Regions from separate parts of the Homo sapiens genome. Here region 1 is linked to region 2. The links are contacts of gene promoters, found by promoter capture Hi-C in human tissues and cell types (Jung and others, 2019). All regions are on one chromosome and are shown on one strand. Each heading gives the region's core, a stretch centred on a gene start or on the middle of the fragment in contact. The rest is flanking DNA. Distances are from core to core; before and after follow the strand shown. Region 1 overlaps EVA1C (eva-1 homolog C). Region 2 holds the start of TCP10L (t-complex 10 like).

Region 1 (3,063 bases), core at 295-2,794, 78 kb before region 2:
CAATTCTATCAGATTAGGATTCCCCCCTTATGGCCTCCTTTAACCTTAATTAGCTCCTAATGAGTGAACTGGGGGCAACACAATTCAGTCCATAGCAACAACCCTGAGAGATGGGACTCTGATCCCCTGTTCTGCACTTGAAGCCGGTGGTCAGAGGAGTTGAGCCATTTGCCTGAGGACACCATGGACAGCGGCAGGGCCAGGATTCAGGCTCAGCTAATACAAGGCTTGCACTCCAGCTACTCTGAATTTTGAGGGATGCAACCACCTCCCCACTCTGATCCTGAGTTGTCTAAATTAGCTTTCCTCCATCTCTTTCTATCCTTTTATGTGATTGTCATTCCCAGAAACCACAGGATAGAGATATTCGTTTAGTGACTATCTCTCCTGCTAGTGGCTCAGCTCCACAGGGTCAGGTGCCTTGTCATCTTATTTTGTGTGGTATCCCTGTATCTAGGATGCGGTGCTGGTACAGAACAGGTGCACAGTCAGTAGTTAAGGAACAACTGAATGATGACTGCTGATATGGGCTTATGAGCTTTTTCCTGTGCTTTATTGTCATCCAATATTTGCTATTTATAAGATGTCCATTTTTTTAAAATGTAAGGACTTGATGAGCTGTTATTTGATTTTATTGAGGGGTGTTTGGTGACATTTATCTTAGCAAACCATGACCACGCCTCCATATAATGTCCAAGAGAAAGAGTCTCTAAATGCACTGTGTTGGATGTTAGCTAAATGAAATCACCACAAGAAGCTCGTGACTCAAATCACAGAGGCTCACAAAGCCCTAGTAGAACAGGTGCCTCTGGGCTTGCCTGTGGGTTTTCTTGGTGTGTCTATGTCGCTGTCTGGGTGGCCACTCTAGAGGTGGGAAGCATGCAGTGCATGCTCAGGGGTCTGCAGGCCAGTGTGCCACAGAGGTGCATGTGGACATCAGGCTGGGTCATTTCGACCCAAACAGGCAGTGGCCACCAGCCAATGTCACACAGTGCTGAGCTCCATCCTCACTGCTGCTGGAGAGAGGTGCCCAGACAACTCTCAGTCGCATCCCCGGCCCCACTGTGGGGATGTGACCCACGGGATGAGCTGGGGTCTCTAGGCACCCCCAAAGCAGGAGCAGCTGGGAGCCAAGAGTGTGAGCAGGGCAGTTTCCAGCCCAAACCACCCAAATAGGCGGCAAATGGAGTGAATCCAAAAGTACATTTCCCAGGTCAGGCTGCAAGTAGCTTTGACACAGTAGTGCAGTCCAGTGTACATGGGGACAAGGAGAAGAGAAACCAAAATCGAGAGGTTTGTCCCCTGATATTAAAGCACAGAGGTTGGCAGAAGGGACAGGAGGATGTCCAAGGGTCCCTGGTGAAGCATCTCCTGGGGTCATCTGAATGATCTGTGAGATGGTTTCCCCAACATTGAAAAAGCTTCTTAGGTATGTTTGAATTTACTGTCATTTCAATAATACAGACTTACTCCCCGAATTCATTCTAGAATCAAGATCATGACTCTAAGGAAGCTCATAGAAAAACATTGGAAATTAGAGAAATGGAAAAGGAGTGGTGTGTGTGTGTGCATGTGTGTGTGCATGTGTGCATGTGCGTCTGTGAGCATGTGCATGTGTGTGTATGTGTGCACGTGTGTGTGCATAGGTGTCTATGCGTGTGCGTGTGTGCATGTGTGCATGTGTGTATGCGTCTGTGTGCGTGTGTCTGTATCTGTGTGCATGTGTCTCTGTGTGTGCATGTGTGCGTCTGTATGTATGCGTGTTTTTGTGTGTGCATGTGTATATGTGTGTGCATGTGTGTTTCTATGTGTACATGTGTGTACATGCGTATCTGTGTGTGCATGGGTTTGCAGGTGTGCCTGTGTGTGCATGCATGTGTATCTGTGTGCATGTGTGCATGCGTATGTGCACGTGTGTGTGCATGTGTGTGCATACGTGTATCTGCATGTGCATATGTGTTTGCGTGTGTGTGCATGTATGTGTATCTCTGTGCATATGTGTATCTCTGTGTGCATGTATGTATGTGTGTTGCATGTGTGTGCATGTGTCTGTATGCTTGTGCGTGTGTGCCGTCATGTGTGTGCATGTGTATCTGTGCATGTGTGTATCTGTGTGTGTGCGTGTGTGCCTGTATGTGTATCTGTATGTGTGTTTGTGTGTGTGTGTATCTGTATGTGTGCCTGCATGTGTGTGTGTGGGTGCGTGTGTGTACGCATGCATGTGTGTGCATGCACATGTGCGTGTGTATCTGTGTGTGTAAGTGTGTGTTGGAAGTTCTTAGCAAAGCAGTGTAATAGCTGGCTCAGCATGAGCCATTGTCCCCTGGCAGATTGTGCCCAAGGGGACTTACGTATTTAGACAGTCTTGCATGAGAATATGACCTCTCCTATTCCACATAATTACTGTTTCATTGACATCTGGCTTTGGGTGTTTACCTCATATGTGCCTGCAGGCATGCCTTTTGTGGCCTAATATTTCCGTCACTGCCCCTGCCCCCTTGGGACAGTGACAGATATGTCATCAGCCTCTGGCAGGCCCTGCTGTGGGCTTCTGGGGCGCAGGGGTAAGGAAGCTGGGCAGAAGGGACAGGCTTGCAGCCTGGGATGTCCTGTTTTGGGAGGCATAATTGTTTCATAAGGGAGGAACTCTAGGGCCACAGATAAGCTTATACTGAAAGAGAAACACAAAAACACGCTCCAGAGTCAGAGCTATGTGATTCCCCCACCAGGGAGAATCACTGGAAATCAGCACCACCTTGTCACGGAGATATGGATTCGGATGTGTTCCCACGGTCTCCAATCTCTAGTTCCATGATAGAAGGTTTCTGTCACACCCCTAAGTGCTGTCAGACCAGCACTTGGTATGCTTTGTGCTTTCTTCTGGACAACTCTCGGGCCCTGACTGCTGCCTCGATCCTCTCAACAGCAATAGGGCCCCAACAGGGGGAACGCTCGCCATGGCCTCTGGGTGTCTTATCTGGACACGAATGAGCTGGAGCGTGCATTTGCCCCAAGTCAGGATCTAAGGGTGGAAAGGAGCCTTAAAGGCCATAGGTCCCCCTT
Region 2 (3,136 bases), core at 578-3,077:
TGCTCTGAGAATAAGTGGGATCGTGATAAAGGTACAGTCCTGCACTGGGTGGCCCTGGCCACAGGGACCCGTGGGACTTTAATGACAGCAAGCACTGTCCAACAGGGTCCAATGAGGAAGATGGTAAAAATCAGGAAACTTGCTGGGATGATGTGAGGCATGTCAACTTTCTGATTTTCTTTAATGAAGTTTTTAAAGTCTGGTGCCTTCTCCTGGATTAGAGGAGAAAAGCTGGAATGTTAATATTTTCTTTAACTCCCTGCCCTGCCTCCCATCCACCAAGAGATACGGTTGCAGAGGGGGAAAGAGCCACATGCCCCTTGGAGAGGAAGTACAGAATCAGTGTCCCGGGGTGGTGCATTCCTACAGGGGTCCAGCAAGGGAAAGTCCAATGACGGGCCTCAGGGACAGGAATCAGGGTCCCGCCTGGTGGGACTAACTCTGTCCCCACAGAGCTCAACTCACTGGCATCTCCCCAGTGTTGCAGTCCTCCGTGAGAACCTCGGCTGCCACAGCTGTCTTCTCCATGACAGCCCCAGCTCCTGGGCACGGGTCCTCTGGGTGGGTGCCCTCTTTGGGGTCCCTGGCCTCGAGTTGACCTGCCAGCATCCTGGTTGGGAAGGGAAGGGCTATGGGGACACTTGAATGCAGCCCTCCTACCCCGTCAGTGTGGGCTGAAGGCCCCAGCCCCAAACTAAGGGTGAGCAGGACCCGCAGCCGCTCCTTCTCCCCCTGGGTCATGTGCACATTCCCAGGCCCGAAGCTGACCAGGTGAAAGGACACCACAGACAGAGGGACTGAGCTGTCCACACCTGGCTCTCCACCATCCTCCGTGGAAAATGCTTTAGATCCTAGAAGATCAGCCTGACACCTAACACACTCCAGTCATCCAAAGAGGGGTGTGAGTGGGGTGTGAGCCGGTGTGAGTGGGATGTGAGTGGGTTGTGAGCAGGATATGAGCGGAATGTGAATGGATGTGAGCGGATGTGAGCACGATGGTCTTGGGGTATGAGCAGGTGTGAGTGGAATGGTCTCAGGGTGTGAGCAGGTGTGAGTGGAGGGTCGCATGAGACACCGAGGGAATTCTCAGCCCTTTAATCAGCACCCACCTGGAGGGGCACAGGCAGACCCTCCACCGTGTTGAGTATGTGTCTTGAACCATCAGGGTGACATTTGTGAATTCATGGTGAAGATGTGGAAAGGAAACACCTTTTTATAGGTACAGCATTTATGCCAGTTCTAGGAAGTTCACAGCAATTAGAGAACAAAAACGAAAGAGAAAAACGCAAAGCTTTCCTGCAAGCCTGCAGGGTCGTCTCTGAAAGCTGCCTCCACCCCTGCCTTGCCCTGTCCGTTTTAGGAAGCCAGTGGCCCCCAACGAAACCCCGACTGTTTAATTCATAAACTTCTAACTGTGTGAGAAGGAACAGTTTAACCACAGTGATCGGAGAAATGCTATTTAAAAGAGAGTCTCCTGATGGAAGCGAATCGAAGGTCTAGAGCAAGACCTACCAGTAACCAGATCACTGCCATTCCTTCCCCGCGGAGACTGGGAATGTTTCTGCGGAAGTGGGCTGGGGTCACGGTCCTCACAGCCCTGAGAAAGCTCCTTCTTTCCTGCTCCTCTGAGGGGACACCCCAGTGTCCTCGGCCCCAAACTCATGACCCCCTCAGTCCAGGGAAGACCCTTTCCTTCAGCCCCACCACCAGACCTCGTCACCTCACCTGGTCCCCAACAGTCACTACTGCCAGGATCAGATCATCTGGGCCATGTCCCCACAGTTGTCCCCAAGCCCTCCTGCCTCATATCCAGAGACCAGAGAGCAGCGGACAGTTCCAACGGACTTTCTGTCTTAAAGGGACATGAACGTCTCACTCAGCGTCACCACTGTACCAGCTCAGATAATAATTAAACATCCCCAAACCTGCAATTCTTAATATAGAAGCTCATCGTCAGTGGAGTCCATCCATCCACAAAGGACATTGGAGAGAGTCAAACTACTCCTCCAAATTGACAAAAACCATGTGTTTTATATCCAGTCTTCAATACGCAACGTGTAGTAAGAGCTCATTTCTCTGAGCATACATTCTTGGAGAAATACAAACTTTCTTCGGATATCAAATTATTTACTAGAAAAAACATTTTTATGAAGGGAAAATAATATATGTGAGTTTAAATAGGAGACAGGATTCAAAGTTTCATCATTTCACTAAATGCATCTCCATCTGAATTGTCCGTGTGATTTTTGTGATAGAGAAGAGAATGAGGAGCAAGCAAGAGTCGATATTCCTGTTAAACCCTGGCTGTCCTTCTCATCCATGGTGCTGCGTGTGGACAACATACACCTGGGGCTCACCTGAGCCTGCTTGGGACGTGTGTCACTTGGATAGTTCTGCAAGCGATTCGCATGCAATAGGCAGTAAATGCCGACGTCATGAATGAATGAAGAGAATACTACAAAGAGGAAACAGAAGGCACTTTTGTCCCCATGTGTCATTCTAACTGTGAGAGTGTGTGTGTGTGTCCTGAGGTGTGCGAGTGTGTGTGTGTGTGTCCTGAGGTGCGTGAGAGGTTGTATGTTTGTCCTGAAGTGTGTGAGAGTTTATATAGGTTTCTGAGGTATGTGAGGGGTTGTGTGTGTCCCTGAGGTGTATGAGGTGTGTGTGGGTCCTGAGGTGTGTGAGTGGTTGTGTGTGGGTCCCTGAGGTGTGTGAGAGGTTGTGTGTGGGTCCTAAGGTGTGTGAGTGGTTGTGTGTGGGTCCTAAGGTGTGTGAGAGGTTGTGTGTGGGTCCTAAGGTGTGTGAGTGGTTGTGTGTGGGTCCTAAGGTGTGTGAGAGGTTGTGTGAGTCCTGAGGTGTGTGAGAGGATTGTGTGTGAGTCCTGAGGTGTGTGAGGGGTTATGTATGGGCCCCTGAGGTGTGTGAGGGGTTTTATGTGTGTCCTGAGAAGTGTGATGAATTGTGTGGGTCCTGAGGTGTGTGAGGGTTTGTGTATGAGACCCTGAGGTGTGTCAACATTGTGTGTGAGACCCTGAGGTGTGTGAGGGGTTGTGTGTGGATTCCTGAGGTGTGTGAGGGCTTGTGTGTATGAGCCTGAGGTGTGTGGGTTCCTTATATGGGTTCCTGAGGTGTGTGA

The links. The method cuts DNA at HindIII sites, captures the fragments that hold promoters and counts their contacts. A contact is called where the count stands out against the background at its distance.
Region 1: a contact is called between a fragment that was not itself captured here and the fragment with the promoter of TCP10L in region 2, in 2 of the 25 tissues and cell types used here (dorsolateral prefrontal cortex and stomach).

The regions. Positions count from the first base shown.
Region 1 is chr21:32,505,796-32,508,858 of GRCh38, forward strand. The region is part of intron 7 of EVA1C (eva-1 homolog C); the gene reads left to right. Among named protein-coding and RNA genes, the nearest start is that of TCP10L, 78 kb to the right of the region's middle. The HindIII fragment of the contact is 3,428 bases long and covers 1-3,063 here.
Region 2 is chr21:32,583,696-32,586,831 of GRCh38, forward strand. It overlaps TCP10L (t-complex 10 like), which reads right to left and starts at 1,828. Exons shown (of 5, transcript NM_144659.7): 1 at 1,726-1,828; 2 at 466-610. The coding sequence starts at 609. The region is part of intron 5 of CFAP298-TCP10L (CFAP298-TCP10L readthrough); the gene reads right to left. RefSeq lists an enhancer at 85-585 and a silencer at 1,667-1,866. The HindIII fragment of the contact is 17,408 bases long and covers 135-3,136 here.